Linked DNA regions of Homo sapiens: regions 2, 3, 4, 5, 6 and 7 are each linked to region 1. The links are contacts of gene promoters, found by promoter capture Hi-C in blood cells and fetal thymus (Javierre and others, 2016). All regions are on one chromosome and are shown on one strand. Each heading gives the region's core, a stretch centred on a gene start or on the middle of the fragment in contact. The rest is flanking DNA. Distances are from core to core; before and after follow the strand shown.

Region 1 (2,831 bases), core at 125-2,624:
GGCAGGAGAATCGTTTGAACCCGGGAGGCAGAGGTTGCAGTAAGCTGAGATCGTGCCACTGTACTCCAGCCTGGGTGACAGAGTGGGACGAGACTGTCTCAAAAAAAAAAAAAATAACAAACAAAAAAAACAACTCTGAGGATACATTTCTAGCCTGAGGCAACTAAAGCAAGAAATAATCTTATGCACAGACCTACAGTTAATCATTTTACTGAATCTACATATACATTCCACTTACATGATTACATATACGCATCAGTATGGACTTACATTCTATACATATGACTCTCCCATATTCAACAAGAGATCACCAAGAGCCTGAATCAAAGGATACCAATAAAACAAACCCTAAACTAGGAAGTGGGAGGGAAAGGAGAAAAGGGATGAGGGAGAAAAAGAAAAAAGAGGAAGGATGAAGGGAAGGCGGAAGCCAATATTAATAAATACTGAGTACCTACTGTATACACACCACCATTTCATGGTTGCTTCTTGGTTTCCACGCTTTCAGTCTTGGCCCTACATCCATTTTTTACACAGCAGTCTAACTGTGGTCTTCGAAACCCTGTGTTATCTGTCCCCAGTGCACCCCATGCTGTGCCACTCCTCTCCCTCAATGCTCTGCAGCCACAAGGGGCACTTTCTGTTCCTAGAATGCTCTGACTTCTTTCCTGCCACAGGGCCTTTGAACTTACTCTTTCCTATGCCTGAACTGCTTTCCACATCACTTATTCTTTTTCATTTTTTGAATTTCAACTCAAACATCACCTTCTAAAGGAATAGCGCACAGCCACTTAGTAACCCTCTATTTCCTTTATCACAATCTGAAAAGTTCCTGTTTGTCTAGCTCCACCCACCAACTTCGAGGGCAAGGACCAGCAATGTCTTGCTCACCACCGCATCTCCCGGGAGTTAGAACGGTACCTGGCACCTCAGGCATCTGATAATACTGGCTGAATGGCTGTTGGAGGCAGAGGTTCTTAACTGCCTATTAAGGATGAGGACCCTGAGGTTCAGAAACGTTAAAGTGATTTGTTCCAAATCAGACAGCGCCAGGTCTGAACCTAGCCAGCTGGGGCTAAGTCAAGTAACAACTGGCGAAACAGAAAGCTTAGCAAAGGCAGGATAGCGACAAACACGACCTAAAGTTTTCTCTTCATACCCAGGGATATCCACACCTTTCTCTCCCGCCCTGACCGACCGCGGGGCCTCCCCGCCCAGCCCCTGGCCGTGCGAGTCCCTTACTATGTGGGGATGAGAAGGCATTTGAGAAGAGTCACCCCGAGCGCCAAAGCCGAAAACCAATTGCCAGTACCCGTGGCAATTGTGAGCGCCGCCATTGCTGCGGCACCGCACGCTTCCCACCAACTTGATCCACATCCGGGATCCCGCGCATGCGGAGAAAGCCCTCTGAAGCCGTGCCCGCTAGCTGCGCGCATGCGGCGAGCGGCGCAGCCAGTCCGGGGACTGCAGTCAGCTATTTAAACCTCCCGCCCACCTTTTCTTTAGACCCGCGTCTCACCCCGGGCCGGAAGGGCTCCTGCGCAGGCGTTTGTAGCCACTTTTAAGTTTTATCAGCTAGTTCATGCTTGCGTTGAAAGAGTGGTCGTTTGCGCTGGGTCATCACTGTGTAGTATTGGGGATACTTAGGTGAGAAAAAAACTTAACGCTAGAGACGTTCACGCACTAGTGGAGAAGCCAGGATTGTTGCCCTAGAGTTACAGTAGATAAAAGTACCTCAGAGAACTGCGGGGGCTCCCAACCTGGACGCTTGCACCGGAGTATTAAATCCAGCTAGAGAATGGCATGTGCAAAGATACAGAGGTGAGAAACATTGTGTTTTTAGAACTCTGAGCGAGGCTCTTGGCTCACCTCCTGCTTGAGCGGAACCCATTCTGGAAGCAGGGTAGAGGCTAGTCCTAACGCTTAGTGTACAAATAGCCTACGGTTCATGTTAAAATAATTCGGATTCTGATTCAGTAGGCCCAACAAACTCGCAGATTGCGTAATGACTGAGGCACATGCAATTTAATTAGGCTTGTCTCATTATTTTACTGTATGATCTTGGACAAACTAAACTCTAAACCTCAGTTTCTTTTTTTAAAATTTTTATTTATTTATTTATTTTTGAAAATAGGAGATAAAAATGGTTTCTGGCCGGACGCGGTGGCTCACGCCTGTAATCCCAACACTGGGAGGCCGAGGTGGGCGAATCACCTGAGTTCAGGAGTTTGAGATCAGCCTGGCCAATATGGTGAAACCCTGTCTCTACTAAAAATTAAAAAAAAATTAGCCGTGCATGGTGGCGGGCGCTTGTAATTCCACCTACTCGGGAGGCTGAAGCTAGAGAATCGCGTGAACGTGGGAGGCGGAGGTTGCAGTGAGCTGAGATCGCGCCATTGCACTTCAGCCTGGGCAAGCCTCAGGCCTGTTTATCCAAGATGCTTTTGGTCTAAAAAAAAAAAAGTTTCAGCCTCATAAACTGGTTGTGAGGATTAAATGAGAATGCATGTAAATTGCTTGATATGATTCCAGGACAGAATAAATGCTCAATAATGTGTCAGATCAGTTAATTATCTTGCTGAAAGATGCACAGCAAGTAGGTGACAGTGTCACCTCCCTAATATGAGTTTATGCCCTCCCACAGCTTCAGCTGCCACCCATGTGAATATGATTCACAGATTTCTAGCTCAGCACTCTTCTCTCACTTTCAGACCCTGGTCTCCAGTTGGCTACCTGACCTCACGTAGATGTTTTTGTTTTGTTTTTGAGAGACAGGGTCTCATTCTGTGGCCCAGGCTGGAGGGCAATAGTGCAAACACAGCTCACTGCAG
Region 2 (2,700 bases), core at 140-2,639, 370 kb after region 1:
TAATACTCTTGACAGACTCCAAATCAAACAGAGCTTGGTTTATGAACATAAAAGCACAAAGGAACCATCAAAAAGTAGAAATAGGCAAACTGCTTTTACAGAAGGAGTTAGCCTATAGAAAGAATATATGAAAAATCCCTCTTCATTTTCCCTGAATTGGAGGAGTAAGAAGGAGGAGGAGGAGGAGAAGGAAGAAGAGGAAGAATGGCATGCTCTGCCATGCCAGGCCTTGTAGGCTGCATGAATACTAAAAATGAACACTCTTAATGATAGGATCATGGGATGACCTATACAAAAGGCAGAGAAACTCTGGGTTGAACTATTTGAACCGTTATCTCCAAATTCCCAAGTTACAGCCAACCCTCCACAGCTATATAGGAAATACCAGTATCATCAAATCATACATATATTTTGGCTAAGAAAACTTCTGAGATAACTCTTTCTACAGTAGTCCCTAAAATACTATCTGCCTAAAATTCAAATTTTTCCACTGAACTTCACACCATATTGTCCTAAAGGAGAATCAGGAGGAAAGCCCAGAATAATTACCCAGTTGAAGAAACTAAATAAAAGTCCCTAAAGAATGTTCCAGAAACAAAAAACAAGTCTCTACCTCCTGATCTTTATCCTAATTCACATGCTAAATCCACCTCTTAAATGTGAAATAAGGCTGGCTTGGGTTTTGCATATTCTCCAACTGTAAAGATCTATGTGACACATGTCTGTTTATCCGTCCCTTACACCTGTTTCATGTGGCAAAACACCAGTTTTTTTTTTTTTTTTTTTTTTCTGTGTAGGGTATATGTGGGAAATAAAATAGGAATTGACATCAAAATAAATAAAACTAATGTGGCTAGCAACGAATACATGTGACTAAGCTTATTTGTTATCAGCTTTTACTTGTGAGAGGGAAGGAAAACCATGACTGAATTTATTGGCAATTTTTTCTAAAGGAGCAAAGATAAAATTTCCTTTTATTTTCTGTAAAACACATACAAACACACATACACATATTATTTTTTCCTACAGTCTTTGTTACAGCACATCTTCTACAGCCTATGAGGCATTTCTATTAAGTGGTTCCCTAAAAACAAGCAAATATAACACCGGTGAAGAGAGAAATTTAATCTGTTCGTATCTATCAACTTTAGGGTGATCACAGGTCTTGGTTTGCCCAGGAAAAAACCATTTTATGCTGACTGCTCCAGAATAACTGTTATCAGCCCTCCCTTTCACTCTTTAAAGTGTCCTTGTTTAGATGCCCCAGCTCTGCCCCCAGAACTGCACTTAAGGTTGTTAGTGGGTTTCAGTGAAGTAAAATACACGGAAATGTTTCCGTGGTTTCTATAATTCATGCACACAGTTCACAGGTAAATTTTTACAATTTTGACTTAAAAAAAAAAAAACCACTAAATTTTCTGAATTCATAGCAAGAGAAATTCACACCCACTGCATGAAAATGTAAAATGAAGCCAGGAGTGGTAGCTCATGTCTGTAGTTCCAACAGTTTGGGAGACTGAGGAGGGAGGATCACTTCACCCTAGGAGTTTGAGACCAGCCTGGGCAACATAATGAAACCTTGTCTCTTAAAGAAAACAAAATACACACACACACACACACACACACACACACACACACACACACACACACACACACATACGTATGTATATATCTTATGTTAAAAGAGAAAAAGAAATTTCAGTTTCACATAATAAGGGTACTTTAAGATATCCTAACAGATCCAATAGCATAGTATTTCAAGTTTTTAAATGCATTTTCTGATGGAGTTTTTTTTTTTTAACTGATTTTTCCCCCCAACTAGAATATACTGGTGAACTAAATCAAAAGCATGGAAGTAATTCAAGCTCACAGGTTATAGCAGCAAAGAAGGAATGGATACAGAAGCTTAGGGCCTAGCTATCTGTCTGTATCTTATCATCATTATCTACCTGAAGTCATATTGATTTATTCATTCAACAAATATTTATTAGACTACTAATCACTGTGGAAAATACAGAGGTAAATCAGGTATGGCCTGTACCTTCAAAAAGTTTATAGACTAGCAGGGTCTTCCCTGACCTAAAAATACAAGCTAAGATATAAAATCCCTAGGAAAAAACATGGAAGAAAAATGTTGGCAATCTTTTGGACAGGATAAAGAAATTCATGAACCACATAAGAAAAAGACTATAATACACTAACAGAATAAGAAGCTTCTGGTCTTCAAAAAAACTATTTTAAAATGGAAAGAAAAGGCAGACTGGGGAAAAAAAGTACACCACCTATATCTGATAAAGGGCTTGTATCCAGAATATATAAAGAACTCTTACAACCCAATAATAAAACAAACAACCTAGTAAAAATTGGATGAAAAAAATTGAAAAGATAGTTCAAAAACAAGATATATGAACAGCCAGTAAGCACATGAAAAAAATGTTCAACAGTACTGGTCACTACAGAAATACAATTTAAAACCACAATGACATATCCTATACTCACTAGAATGACTATAATTAAAAATACGACATCATCTTTTGTCAAAGACGTGGACCAACCGGCATCCTCATCCACTGCTAGCGGGCATGTAAATAATACAATTACTTCAGCAAATTACTTGGTAGATTCTTACAAAGTTAAGCATTAACTTAATTCCTAGTTATTTACCCAAGGGAAATAAAAACATATGTCCACACACAGACT
Region 3 (2,706 bases), core at 40-2,539, 510 kb before region 1:
TCTTACTACACTACTACACCCCAAGGTTAACAGCCTTTTACTTTTCCTCATCCTCTTTTTCAAACTTCACTAGATTTTTAAATGTCTTTGAACCTTTTCCAATGGCAAGAATTTGAAATCTTATAACAAAAATATTTTCAGATAGCTGAATCAGTCATTACCACTTAATGAGGCAGGTCTTGCCAAAAGTCCTAAGAATTACTAAATAGTTTCACACCTGAATATAAATGATCATATTATATCTGGAACCATATTAAAATCTAAATTTGAAAGAGCAATAGCCTTGTAGGTAACTTCATAGGATTGTCTCTTACACACTACTTCAAAGAAAAGCAACCCGTTATTTTAAACATGAGCATCTTCACTAGACTTTTACAAGTCTTTGCAATTATCCCAAAGCAAAACTTGAGAATCTTTATATCCTACAGTTTCTCAACCTTGGCACTACTGACATTTGGATGGAATAATTCTTTGTTGTGGGGGACCATCTGTGCATAGCAGAATATTTAGTATAATAATAGCATCCTTGGCATCTAACTGCTAGACACCAATAATACCCTTCCTCTTTCAACCAAAATGTCACTGCCAAATGTGGGGGAATGGTGAGGTTGGTGGAGGCCCATGGAAAATATATCCCCCCTACAACCACTGAGACCCACTACTGAAACAAAACAAAACAGTTCTATCTTAAATTATGAGAAGCACAGGGTATACTGATCCAAGCCCCTAAGGGTGCCTTTTAAAAAGAGAAAGGCAGAATAAACAGTGAAACTTTAGAGGAAAAGCTAGAAATACATATCCATAATAAATGAAGAATTCTAAGTGTAAATATAGAGAAATATATACAGACACACATGAACATCCATTGTGAAAACTTCAAGTGTCCAAGTTGCTGTGCTGAAATTTTGCTTAATAAACTACTACCCAAAATGAGTCAATGGCCTCAATGTTACATTGATTATTATCAAAGACTCTTTTTTTTCTTTTTTTTTTTTTAGACGGAGTCTCACTTTGTCGCCCAGGCTGGAGTGCAGTGGCATGATCTCGGCTCACTACAAGCTCCACCTCCCAGGTTCACACCATTCTCCTGCCTCAGTCTCCTGAGTAGCTGGGACTACAGGCGCCCACCACCACGCCTGGCTAATTTTTTGTATTTTTTAGTAGAGACGGGTTTTCACCGTATTAGCCAGGATGGTCTCGATCTCCTGACCTTGTGATCCGCCCGCCTCGGCCTCCCAGAGTGCTGGGATTACAGGCGTGAGCCACCGTGCCCGGCCTCAAAGACTCTTTTTTAAAATATAATTTGCTATCAAAGGAGGCATTAGATTAAATTACACCATACATACCTTCAAATTTGGCATTCACCATAACATACAAATGCTCTCCTAGACAGTCACTTCGGTCCCTGGATAATGCATGTAAACTAATGGTGGGGTATTCCAGTGAGAATCCTAATCCAGAGCCATCTAACCAAGACAGGCGGCTGAAAAACATGTTTTAAGTAGATTATTTTTAGAAAGTAAATCCTCATGTAAGACCACAAAGTATATAAAAGTTCAGCTTGGACACCTTTATGCATATAAATAAATTCAAGTTTACTTTTTTAGAAACGTTCATAAAATAAGAAAATTCAGTAGTGGAAACTGAGTTTTCTTTAAGATCAATTCTGTTACGGTCTCTTTCCCTCTAGCTATAAATTCAAACAGACTTGAAATTCCATTTTCCTCAGTCACATGTATGTTTCTATGACTTTCATGCTTACTCTTTTTTGGTATGTCTTCAAATACCCTCTTTGCTTTTGCAAATCCTCCCCTCTTCCATGAGGCCTCCCTTCAACTACACCAGTCCATAAAGATCTCTTCCTTTTCTGATTTGCAAATTTTAGCACTTAACTCTGTGGTAATGAGTCTTATATGTGCCCTTATGGAATGTGAACTATCGGACAGCAGAACTTGTCACATTCCTTTATTAACATCCTTCAAAACCGTTAACAAAGAGCTCAGGAGTTAAGTATGCAATAAATCCTTGGTAATCATGCATTTCTCCATGAATCCTACACTAAAAGACATATATATGAAATGGCTGTAATCACACTCACCGCAAGTCAGGAAATAATTATTACCCTGAGAGACAGATTCCCTGAAGCCTTTCATTTATTCAACGTCTTTAAGAGAAAGCCACAGAAAAGCTAGATCTAGTTTTCCCTCAAATGTGGTCAAATGCAAATATTTTATTGGTGTAACAAAGGAAACACATCACCAAAATCAGTATTTTGAGCTTTCAGTAGAGGCTAGCTAATTTTCTGATAATACTTCATCCATCTGGAGCTGTACCACTTAGCAGAAAAAAAGTAAAAAATCCTGAAGAAGTCAAAAAAAAAATGTTAATGCAATATAGTGGTTGCCTAGGGCTAGAAGGAAATAGGGAATGTCTGCTACTGGGTACCAGGTTCTTTTTGGGGTGAAGAAAATATTCTAAAATGGTGGTGATAATTGCACAATTCTGTAAACAGACTAAAAACTAGTGAATTGTATGTTTAAATGGTTAAACTGTATGCTATATGAATTATTTTTAAAAGTTAATGAAGTAAGACCCCTGTATCATTCTATATTCTATACAATTTTAACAAGCCTGGCTGTCTAATTTCTAACCAAGCAAAAACAAAAGTAAAACAGGAGAACCTAGGACTGCCTTGGGCAGGAACAA
Region 4 (2,700 bases), core at 133-2,632, 400 kb after region 1:
AGGTTGAGGCAAAACAGAAAGTGAATATACAATGCTGCCTTATTTTTCTTTTACAGGAGATAAACACAAATGTAAAATTGCAAAACAGCAAACTTATTCCTAAATGTAAAGGGGTCGGTGAAAAATGAACCAAACTTTTTTTCACTATTGCTTGAAAAATATTAATTTTGGCTTATTCATTGTCAGATTGGGGCTTTAAGGATGAATATGATAAGATATGGTCCTAGTCCGTTAACTAGGACTTCTGTGAGAAGGGATACCTATGCTCCAGAGTTAAGTCTCCAAACCACGTATCCACACAAAGGACTTGACTACCACTAAACACAGCAGGTACTCAATAAATACTTATAAATCCCAGCACTTCGGTGGGGTGGAGGCAGGAGGATTGCTTGAGACCAGGAGTTCAAGACCAGCCTGAGCAACATAGTGAGACCCTGACTCTACTTTAAAAATTAGCTGGGTGTGGTGGTGCGCACCTGTAGTTTTAGTAACTCTAGAGGCTGGAGTGGGTGGATCACTTGAGCTCAGGAGGTCAAGGCTGCAGACAGCCATGATCGCTGGCTCATCACTGCACTCCCAACAGGGCGACAGAGCGAGACCTTGGGTCAAAACAAACCCCCCCACAAAATATACTTTCTTGCAGTTGCTGCAAGGAGGAAGTTAAGTTATTGATAACTGGAACAGAAGGGCTTGGTTGCCCTTTACCTCTGGCTGTGGTAATCAAGAGTAAGTTAGCCAAGTACGGTGGTGGGTGCCTGTAATCCCAGCCACTAGGGAGGCTGAGGCACAAGAACTGCTTGAACCCAGGAGGCAGAGGTTGCAGTGGGCTGAGATGGTGCCACTGCACTCTAGCCTGGGCAACAGAGCAAAACTACGTGTCAAAAAAAAAGAATAAGCCATTATAAAGCATACTCATATAAAAGTCACGATTTTGATGCTATCCAAAGATTATCCAAAAGGGATTCACATCATTTTTTGAGATCAAAGTGTCTCTTGAAGTCAACAATGCCATGGAATGCTTCCTTCAAAGATGGCATGCATAAAATAAATGTCTAATTTCCAACAAAAACCAATTTCCCCTAATAATTAGATGGTATTGGCCCTAAAGAGTATAAACTCAAAAAACTTTCCAGTGTTTATGAAGCTGACATTTTCTTTTCATTTATGATTACTTGAATTCTAATGTCCAGACTAGCAACATGAAAGTTCATGTTTTTTAAAAAGAAGAAACGCTACTTTTCTACTTTTAATTAGCAATGGAAATAACCATTTGTAGGAAAAAAAATAATTCTCTCTATATTAAAAGTTCAAAAGTCTAGCAGAGGTGAACTATTCAACATAATCACTTCTGGGAAAATACACAGCAGGAATAGATACAACAAAAACAAAAAACATGTACCCTGGTACCAAGATCCAAGATGCATAAGCTACTTTCTAAATATATCCAGAATCCGGCCAGGCAGAGAGGCTCATGGCTGTAATCCTAGCACTTTGGGAGGCCAAGGCGGGCAGACCACGAGGTCAAGAGATTGAGACCATCCTGGCCGACATGGTGAAAACCCGTCTCTACTAAAACTACAAAAATTAGCTGGGCGTGGTGGCGCGCACCTGTAGTCCCAGCTACTCGGGAGGCTGAGGCAGGAGAATCGCTTGAACCCGGGAGGTGGAGCCAAGATTGTGCCACTGCACTCTAGCCTGGCAACAGAGTAAGACTCTGTCTCAAAAAAAAAAAAAAAAAAAAAACTCTCTCTCACTCTCCAGAATCCAACCACATTTGAGGATGTACAATTTCAACTCCTGTGTAAATCACTATCTGTCCACCTAAAATACAGCATTAGACTTTTAACTGGTTTCTCTTCTTCTGTACCTCTCCCTGATTTAATCTCCATATAGCAGCCAGAATGATCTCATTAAAATATAAGTGATTTATTACTCCTTTGCTTATAACTCTCCAAAGACTCACAGCCAATATTCTTATAATGGCCTAAAAAGTCCTTTTTAGAGGGAATGTTTCTGGTTGTCATAACTGGGGAGAGCTACTGAAATTTAGTGGGTACTACCCCAAGTTTCAAATATGCAATGGAACATTCATGTTAGTGAATTAGGTAAATTGTATTATTTTAATATGCTCTGAATTTTCCAGAATGCATCTTCCATGTAAATCAAGGGAAAGCTAATACTTTCATGCGGAACTCTTATCAAGAATGAGTTACCGGCTGAGCGCAGTAGCTCATGCCTGTAATCCCAGCACTTGGGAGACTGAGGCAGGCAGATCACTTGAGGTCAGGAGATCGAGACCATCCTGGCTAACACGGTGAAACCCCGTCTCTACTAAAAATACAAAAAATTAGCCAGGCGCGGTGGTGGGTGCCTGTAGTCCCAGCTACTCGGGAGGCTGAGGCAGGAGAACGGCGTGAACCTGGGAGACGGAGTTTGCAGTAAGCCAAGATCGTGCCACTGCACTCCAGCCTGGGCGATAGAGCGAGACTCCGTCTCACAAAAAAAAAAAAAAAAAAAAAAAGGATACAGAAAATTAGCTGCGCGTGGTGGTGGGCACCTGTAATCCCAGCTACTCAGGAGGCTGAGGCAGAAGAATTGCTTGAACACGGGAGGCAGAGGTTGCAGTGAGGTGAGATCGCGCCACTGCACTCCAGTATTCTCATCACAAATAGCAAACTGTTCATGATATGTGAGTCACCA
Region 5 (2,700 bases), core at 177-2,676, 340 kb after region 1:
CCAACTGTCCATATCACTCTGGTGTTTGGTTCCTTCTTCATTTCTAGCACCTGGAACTTCTCCTACTTTCTAGTGAATTCAACAACGTATTTAAAAGAATCTTATAATATTTTAAGTATTATTTTTAGATGTTTTGCAGAAAGAGTGTTTTCAAATTACCTAGTCTGACATATTGCTTTTAACAGTATTGTCATTAAATCCTTTCAACAATATAAGGCAGAGTATTTTTTTATAGATGAGGAAACTGAAGTTCAGAAAAGTTAAAGATTCACTATTAATCAAGTTCATAGTCGTAATTACATTATTCATATAAATATTTAACTGTTCATCTTTTTCTCTAGATTTTCAACTCCATAAAAAAATAAATCAATGTTTGTTTTCATTATTCTCAAGAACTAGCAAAGTGCCTAACTCATATTAGGCAGTCAATAAATATTTGTTAAAAAATAATAATTTACTCATTAATGGCTAGTAAATGGTAGGGCCAGGATTAGAATCCAGGTTTTCTGAATCATGGTTCACTACCCTCAGTGACTGAAATAAATAGTGATATTAGCCAATAAGAAACCTCAGGAGAGGATCCAGCCTAAAGAATACCTTTACAGCCACAGTTACTCAAGTCACTTGTTTGTCCACTCAATTACTCAGTATTTACTGAGTTCCTGTTAAAGGCACTGGGCTAAGTCCTGGGGGTATAAGAGTAAGCAATTTAAACATAGCCTCTGACATCACAGAGGTAGTAGATACCAATCAAATAATCACACATATACATTTATTTAAAAATGTCTGAATTTTTAATTGACAAATATTTTATGTATTTACAGGATACAATGTGTTTTTGGTATTATACACTGTGGGATGAATATATCAAGGTAATTAACATATCTATCGTCTCACATGCTTCACTTTTTTTTTTGCAGTGAGAAGATTTAAAATCTACTCCTTTAGCAATTTTGAGATATACATTACAATTAATTATGGTCACTTTGTTATGCAATAAATCCTGAACACTTATTCCTCTGGTCTAACTGAAACTTTGTACCCCTTGGACAATTTCTTTCCATTCCCTTCAAGAACCCCTCACCGGCCACTGGTAACTACCATTCTACTCACTACTTCTGTAGTGTTAACTTTATTACATTTCACATCAAAGTGAATCATGCAGTATTTGTCTTTCTGTGCCTAGCTTCTTTCACTTAGCATTAAGTCTTCCAGGTTGATCCATGCTGTCACAAATAAGATTTCCTTTGAATAGTATTCCACTGTGTATATATATACACATTTACTTTATCCAGTCACCTACTGATGGACACTTAGGTTGATTCCATATCTTGGCTACTATGAATAGTGCTGCAAAGAACATGTAAGTGCAGATATCTCTTTGACATACTGACTTCAGTTCTGCATATGTACCCAGAGGTAGGATGGCTGAATCATATGGTAAATATACTTTTGGTTTTTTGAGAAACCTCCCATACTATCCTCCATAATAGCTCTACTAATTTACATTGCCACTAACAGTTATAAAAGGGTTCCCAAGCGCCACATCTTTGCCAACACCTGTTATCATTTGACTTTTTTTTTTTTTTTTTTTTTTTTTTTTTTGAGACAAGGTCTTGCTCTGTCTCCCAGGCTGGAGTGCAGCAGCGTCTGTGATCATAGCTCACTGAAAACTCAACCTCCTGGGCTTAGGCAATCCTCCCACCTTAGTCTCCTGAGTAGCTGGCACTACAGGCACATGTCACCACACCTGACTAATTTATTTATTTATTTTTTGTAGAGACAGGGTCTCACTAAGTTGGCCAGGGTGGTCCTGAACTCCTGGGTTCAAGTGATCCTCCCACCTCAGCCTCCCAAAGTGCTGAGACTACAGGCATGAGCCAACGTGTCTCATTCTACTTTTTGATAACAGCCATTCTAACAGGTGTGAGTGGTTATCTCAGTGCGGTTTTAATTTGCATTTTATTGATTAGTGATGTTGGACACTTTTTGATAAACCTATTGGCCATCTGTATCTTACACAAATGTAAAACATTTGTGATGTCTGCCTGCCTGAGCAAAGCATGGGGGTGGATGCTGAGGCTAGGTGGGGTGGCTGCCCTGTAGGGGCTCAAACCAGATAGACTTTCCTACTGAGCTTCTGCAGCAACCAGCTAGGCTTTGTAAATGGGCTATGCCACTGGCTGGTATCTCTGATCAGGTGCTACTGCTGGCAGGAACACAGCTATGACTAAGATCCGTGTACTGGTTGCTGTGAGCACTGCCCCACTCCTTTGTTCCTACTTGACCCCTGGTAGTCTAGGCCTTACCCCCAGGGTTCCCTGTGAGACAGGAATGGGCCTCCTAGGAAGCATCACAGAATGCTGGGGAAACTGGATAGCTGTCTCTTTTTCCACTGCATTAACTGTGTGCCAAGGGGAATCTTCTGTGTGTGGTATTGTGCCTACTTAGGGAAGGGAGGATTCAGTCAAACTGAGACCATTGCTCCTACCCTTCTAATGCACTTTTTGCTCTGTGGTCCATCTGCGTGTCTCAATTTCATTCCCAAATTTTGGGATTTTCAAAAAGGTGTTCTTGTATGTGACTAGTTGCCAAATGGACTTTCTGTGGTGAAGGCTGGGACCCTCTATTCATCATCTTGCTGATGTCCCTCTCCCCACAAATTTAAACTGCAACTATGATTTGTAGTATGCAGAATGG
Region 6 (2,739 bases), core at 240-2,739, 390 kb after region 1:
GGGGAAACATGACAACTAAGTTTTATGTGGTACCCTGAATTGGATCCTGGAAAAAGAATAAGGGTATTGATGGAAAAGCTGGTGAAATCCAAATAAAGTCTAGAGCTTCATTAATAGTAATGTGATAACATTTAATTCTTGGTTTTGACAAATGTATCATGGTCATGGAAGATGTTTACAATGGGGGAAACTGGATAGAGAATACACAAAACTATGCATTATCTTTTCAACTTTCTATATATTAAAAATTATTCCAACATAGAATATTTACTTTAAAAAAAGCTTTAAAATGGAACCATAAACCCACTAAAGCAACAGAGATATCCTTTTGGAAAATGTTAACTGTCTAAATTTAACTACCATTTTCTCCATTTTAAAAGTCTGTTAATACTCTGGTTTCTCTTCAGATTGCATAAATCTTTTGCCTTTTACAAAGTCTGTTAAATTGAATTCAAGAAAAAACAAAGCTGAGGGAAAAAGGACTAACAATTTCTTATTGGAGAATAAATCATACTTTAATCAAAAACATTATGTTCTGCATATTAATAGTCCTAGAACTGTGCATATTAAACTAGGAACATTTGAATGACAGTAGTACAAATACTTCATGGCACACTAAAAAATACAAAACCTAGTATTCTACCAATTTAATCTTCCGTCAAGTTTCACAGAACACTGTGTTCTGTGGTTCACTGCGCTTTACTGGGAAAGAGGCATATTTAATACACTAGTGGTATTATAATAGAGAAACAAACATTTGCTAAGTTTATATATTTCACATATGACACTTCTGAGGGATGAGACACCTTGCTTCTAACTTTATAAATAATAGAAATGAATACTAAAAGGCTGTTAAGAAAGGTTATCCAAACCTTGAATATAAGGCCAAAAGCTGTAGCCTTAAAAAGGTGATGTCCTTTCAAGGTATTACACAATGAGGGGACAAAGGCCCATTCGACGATTACTTAATTACTTAGGGAAAGGGAAATGTACTTGTTCCATTAGTCTATTTAATATTGAATTAAATAACCCGTATTAAGTGAAGTTACACGCTAATTTACAGATCTTTCCCAGCAGAGTTGCAAATAACTCTACCAGGTAGAAGAGATAATCCCAAAGTTTAGGGTGTGTTGGTCCTGTAGGACATTAACCAGTTTATAACTGACCTAGCACTCTTATTCCAACTATTAAAATGTCTATAAATACAGAGGTCTTCAGATGCTCTTTGAAACAGTTTTCTATTTTACTTGTTTCCTCTGTAATATAATCAACTGAATGAAAACTTTGATACAAATTCATTTTGTATTTGAATGAGTCATGTTTTTAATTTTTTTAAATTATAATTCCGTAGGCATAAGAACATTCCATGACAGGCTTGACACGGCCTTTCCTACATCCAGATCTGCAAATCCTATAATCTCACCATGTTATTATGACACTTTTTCTGCATAGTATTCTGCTAATATTGCCAGTCATTTGGTTATTGGAACTATCAAATAACATATTTTTGTTTCAAAGATAAATCAGAAAAGAACATGTTACTTTCAAGACCATCTTTATTCCACCACTGACTTTCCATTCTTCTAGCAAAGTACAAAAGTAAATATGCAAACTATTCTATTACATTTTCCTTGAGTTTTCTCATCTGTGCATTTTTAAAACAATGGAAAACACCAAAAGATTCCCTTCCTTTCAAGTGAGCTATTTCCAGAAAAGATTTTTTTAAGTCCTAATCTCTATAATGAGAAAATATTTAAAGAAAAAGATACATAAAGAAAACTCAGTACTTGATGAGTCTGCATTAACAAATTACCCCCAGAGGCCAGGCTCAGTGGCTCCTGCTTGTAATCCCAGTGCTTTGGGAGGCTGAGGCGGAAGAACCACTTGAGTCAAGAGTTTGAGACCAGCCTAGGACACATGGTGAGAACCCACCTCTACAAAAAATTTTAAAAATTAGCTAAGTGTGCTGGCACATGCCTTGAGTTCCAGTTACTTGGGAGGCCTAAGGCAGGAAGATCACTTGAGCCTAGAGTTTGAGATCAGCCTTGGTACATAGCAAGACCCCATCTCTACAAACAATTAGCCAGGTTTGGTGGTATATACCTGTAGTCCCAGCTACTCAGAAGGCTGAGGCAGGAGAATCACTTGAGCCCAGGAGTTTGTGAGCTATGACTGTGCAACTACACTCCAGCCTGGGCAATAAGCGAGATCCCACCTCTAAAAAAAATAAAAATAAATGGGAATTACCCACAGAATTACAGAATATAAGATTTAGACAGGATTTTAAAGGTCTTCTTTCTCAATCCCGTTTTAAAGAAAAGGTAGGCCCCAAGGAATACAGTGACTTTCCAGAGGTCTGACAGTTGCTAAAATTCATTTGATCTGACTTAAAAGATGTAATTTGCTGTACACCTCTCAAAATGTAGGTATGAGTTAATTTTATTTAAACCAATTACTGAAAAAAAAATTATTCCGTCTGTTTCAAATACTACTCTCTTTAAAATGAAATAGACTAATACCCGGTTCAGGTATAAACTATAAATTGCCTTTACTTCCATAAATATGATTAATTTAAATAAATTCTGATTACATGTTTGGGATTCAAGCAAGAAAAATTAGTAAAAAGAAAAAAATGACAACTTTGTATTTTCAGTGTTACATTTTTCACTAAAAACAAAAGTCTGTACTACAAGTAAGAAGCTTAAATATTTTGGAAAATTCAAGTGAACTAATGATAAA
Region 7 (2,793 bases), core at 57-2,556, 450 kb after region 1:
TAGCCACGAATTTTCAAAACTGGTAAAAGACATCAAACCACAGACTCAAGAAACTCTACAAACACAAGCAGGATAAAAAACAAAAAACAAAACACTCTATTCCTAGGCACATAGTAAAACTCCTGGAAACAAAAAGAAAAGAGAAAATCTTAAAAATAGTTTCACTAAATTCAAAGGAGTAATAAATAAGACAGACAGCTGACTTTTCAAAAGCAATTATGGAACCAAAAGACAATAGTGGTATCTTTAAAATTCTGAAAGAAAATATCTGCCAACCTAGACTTCTATACCTGAGAAATATCCCTCAGTAGTGAAGGTTAAATAAAAGAGGTTTCAGATAAACAAACGCTAAGACAGTTTATTATTAGTAGACCCACACTACAGAGGTCTTCAGGCAGAAGGCAAATAATCCCAGAGAAAAGTGTGAAAACTCATGAAGGAATAAAGAACAGTGGAGGGTAAAAGTGGGTAAATCTAAACAAATATTGACTGTATAGAACAATGATAACAATGTCTTGTGAGGCTAAAAATACATATAAAATTAAATATACAACCCCAATAGCACAAAAATCAGGAAAGAGGTAAATGAAATTAAAGCATTGTAAGATCCTTGCATTGGATGGGAAATAGAAAACTAGTTTAGAGTAGATTTTTATTATATCAAGAATGTACACTGTAATAATTACTATAAACAGAAGAATGGGTAATAAATTATGGTATATTTATGTAACTAGAATCAAAATGAGTAGAATACTGCTACACACACCAATAAGGATGACACTCAGCAGGCATGGTGGCTCAAACCTGTAATCTCAGCACTTTGGGAAGCCCATGTGGGCAGGTCACTTAAGCCTAGAAGTTTGAGATCAGCCTGGGCAAAATGGTGAAACCCTGTCTCGACAAAAAAAAAAATAATAATGATAAAATAAAATAAAATAGCTGGACATGGTGGCATGTGCCTGTAGTCCCAGCTATATGGGAGGCTGAGGCAGGAGGATGGACTAAGCCCAGGAGGTCAAGGCTGCAGTGAGCTGTGTGTGTGCCACTACACTCCAGCCTGTGTGAAAGAGCAGAGCTTGTCTCAAACACACACACACACACACTCTCTCTCTCTCTCAAAAAGGAAAAAAAAGGATGACGCTCATGAACATAAAGTTGAGAGGAAAAAAAGCCAGACACAAAAGAATACATATTGTATGATTCATTTATGTAAAGTATTCTAATGGAAAAACTAATCTATAGTGATAAAAGCCAGAAAAATACTTAACTTTAGGGAAAGAGTGGGAGGAATGAAAAGGGAGGCTTCTGGGTGATGGTAATTTCTACTTCTTGATCTGGAAGGGAGGTAGATATATGGGTGTATTCACTTTGTAAACTTCATTATTTCTATGCTTTTATGTATATAAACTGTATGTTAAACTTCAATTAAAAGTTTACTTTAAAAATACTATGTTCAGGCCAGGTGCAGTGGCTCATGCCTGTATTCCTAGCACTTTGGGAAGCCGAGGCAGGAGGATGGCTTGAGGCCTGGAGTTCAAGACCAGCCTGGGTGACATAGTGAGAGCCCATTTCTGCAAAAAAAAAAAAAAAAAAAAAAATTTTAAATGAAATAGCTACGCATGGTGGTGCACACCTATAGTCCTAGCTACTCTGGCTAAGGCAAGAGGATTGCTTCAGCCTGAGAGTTCAAAGTTACAGTGAGCTATGATCATGCCACTGCACTCCAGTCTGGGCAACAGAGCAAAACTCTGTCTCTTAAAAAAAAATTATGTTGGTTGTGCAGTGAGCAGGGTAAAATAATTCTGGCTTCACCATGTACTAGCCAGGTCACTATGGGCAAGGACTTTTGCTGTCATAGGTAAGGGATGAGTTACTTCTGTGAGACGGAGATAATATTTGCCTCACAGGGTTGTCAAAATTAGCAAATGAAATAATCTATTAGACATTCCATAAGCTATGTTTATTTCATCATTAAGACCAAAGGGTATGCACTTTTATCATCCTCATTTTATAGATAAGGCAGCTGAGAGACAAGAGTTTAAGTAGGTTGCCCAGGGTCCCTTAGATGATAAACAGCAAATATTAGGATTCAAACTCTCATAGTCTGGTTCCAGAATCTTTTCTTTTGCTCACTATGTGAATGTCATAAAGACATAGATTTTTTATTTTTTATTTTTTGTTCACTGATAATTTCATATGCTTAGATCTGGCAAATCATATGACTTCATTAAAATAAACAGTACCTCACTCCTGTAATCCCAGCACTTTGGGAGGCCGAGGCAGGTGGATCATGAGGTCAGGACATCAAAACCATCCTGGCTAACACGATGAAACCCCTTCTCCACTAAAAAAACTCAAAAAATTAGCTGGGTGTGGTGGCGGGCGCCTGTAGTCACAGCTACTAGGGAGGCTGAGGCAGGAGAATCACTTGAACCCAGGAGGCGGAGGTTGCAGTGAGCTGAGATTGCGCCATTGCACTCCAGCCTGGGTGACAGAGAAAGACTCCATCTCAAAAAAAAAAAAAAAGTACCTTTCACTAAATTAAAATTAAAAAATAAAATAAAATGATGACTACTTGGCTGTAGTTTAACTGTTCTAAGAAATGTGTTTTGATGTTTTGCTATAAGATAGTACTGCCATTCATAATTTTAAATCTGCAGAAGTGAATCATTTGACTTTGCTGGGTGCTCATCAAACATTCCTGCCACCTGGTGGTAACATATATAAATTGCAAGGGGAGATATTTTTAAGAAGTAAATTCCCTTTGAGACCTGAATTGGCACAAGACCTCTC

Evidence for each region. The method cuts DNA at HindIII sites, captures the fragments that hold promoters and counts their contacts. A CHiCAGO score of 5 or more calls a contact.
Region 2: a fragment that was not itself captured here is called in contact with the fragment with the promoter of ALG8 in region 1 in 4 of 17 cell types (megakaryocytes, fetal thymus, erythroblasts and 1 more); the score reaches 6.2 in megakaryocytes.
Region 3: a fragment that was not itself captured here is called in contact with the fragment with the promoter of ALG8 in region 1 in 1 of 17 cell types (activated CD4 T cells); the score reaches 5.8 in activated CD4 T cells.
Region 4: a fragment that was not itself captured here is called in contact with the fragment with the promoter of ALG8 in region 1 in 1 of 17 cell types (naive B cells); the score reaches 5.8 in naive B cells.
Region 5: a contact is called between a fragment that was not itself captured here and the fragment with the promoter of ALG8 in region 1, in 1 of 17 cell types (naive CD4 T cells). The highest score is 6.0, in naive CD4 T cells.
Region 6: a contact is called between a fragment that was not itself captured here and the fragment with the promoter of ALG8 in region 1, in 5 of 17 cell types (monocytes, naive CD4 T cells, total B cells and 2 more). The highest score is 7.1, in monocytes.
Region 7: a fragment that was not itself captured here is called in contact with the fragment with the promoter of ALG8 in region 1 in 6 of 17 cell types (monocytes, fetal thymus, neutrophils and 3 more); the score reaches 11.6 in monocytes.

What each region holds. Positions count from the first base shown.
Region 1 is chr11:78,138,252-78,141,082 of GRCh38, forward strand. It overlaps ALG8 (ALG8 alpha-1,3-glucosyltransferase), which reads right to left and starts at 1,375. Exons shown (of 13, transcript NM_024079.5): 1 at 1,243-1,375. The coding sequence starts at 1,337. It overlaps KCTD21-AS1 (KCTD21 antisense RNA 1), which reads left to right and starts at 1,542. Exons shown (of 3, transcript NR_102281.1): 1 at 1,542-1,821. RefSeq lists enhancers at 958-1,067, 1,148-1,227, 1,838-1,947, 2,108-2,818. The HindIII fragment of the contact is 5,506 bases long and covers 1,106-2,831 here.
Region 2 is chr11:78,503,668-78,506,367 of GRCh38, forward strand. The region is part of intron 6 of NARS2 (asparaginyl-tRNA synthetase 2, mitochondrial); the gene reads right to left. Among named protein-coding and RNA genes, the nearest start is that of NARS2-AS1, 28 kb to the right of the region's middle. The HindIII fragment of the contact is 1,027 bases long and covers 877-1,903 here.
Region 3 is chr11:77,628,417-77,631,122 of GRCh38, forward strand. It overlaps CLNS1A (chloride nucleotide-sensitive channel 1A), which reads right to left. Exons shown (of 7, transcript NM_001293.3): 2 at 1,347-1,483. Among named protein-coding and RNA genes, the nearest start is that of CLNS1A, 8.0 kb to the right of the region's middle. The HindIII fragment of the contact is 4,039 bases long and covers 1-2,706 here.
Region 4 is chr11:78,542,298-78,544,997 of GRCh38, forward strand. The region is part of intron 5 of NARS2 (asparaginyl-tRNA synthetase 2, mitochondrial); the gene reads right to left. The region is part of intron 1 of NARS2-AS1 (NARS2 antisense RNA 1); the gene reads left to right. Among named protein-coding and RNA genes, the nearest start is that of NARS2-AS1, 10 kb to the left of the region's middle. The HindIII fragment of the contact is 4,377 bases long and covers 1-2,700 here.
Region 5 is chr11:78,474,006-78,476,705 of GRCh38, forward strand. All of the region lies in intron 9 of NARS2 (asparaginyl-tRNA synthetase 2, mitochondrial), which reads right to left. All of the region lies in intron 1 of LOC105369403 (a long non-coding RNA gene), which reads left to right. Among named protein-coding and RNA genes, the nearest start is that of LINC02728, 46 kb to the left of the region's middle. The HindIII fragment of the contact is 8,270 bases long and covers 1-2,700 here.
Region 6 is chr11:78,526,008-78,528,746 of GRCh38, forward strand. The region is part of intron 6 of NARS2 (asparaginyl-tRNA synthetase 2, mitochondrial); the gene reads right to left. Among named protein-coding and RNA genes, the nearest start is that of NARS2-AS1, 5.8 kb to the right of the region's middle. The HindIII fragment of the contact is 2,418 bases long and covers 281-2,698 here.
Region 7 is chr11:78,583,938-78,586,730 of GRCh38, forward strand. No RefSeq gene overlaps it. Among named protein-coding and RNA genes, the nearest start is that of NARS2, 10 kb to the left of the region's middle. The HindIII fragment of the contact is 6,128 bases long and covers 1-2,793 here.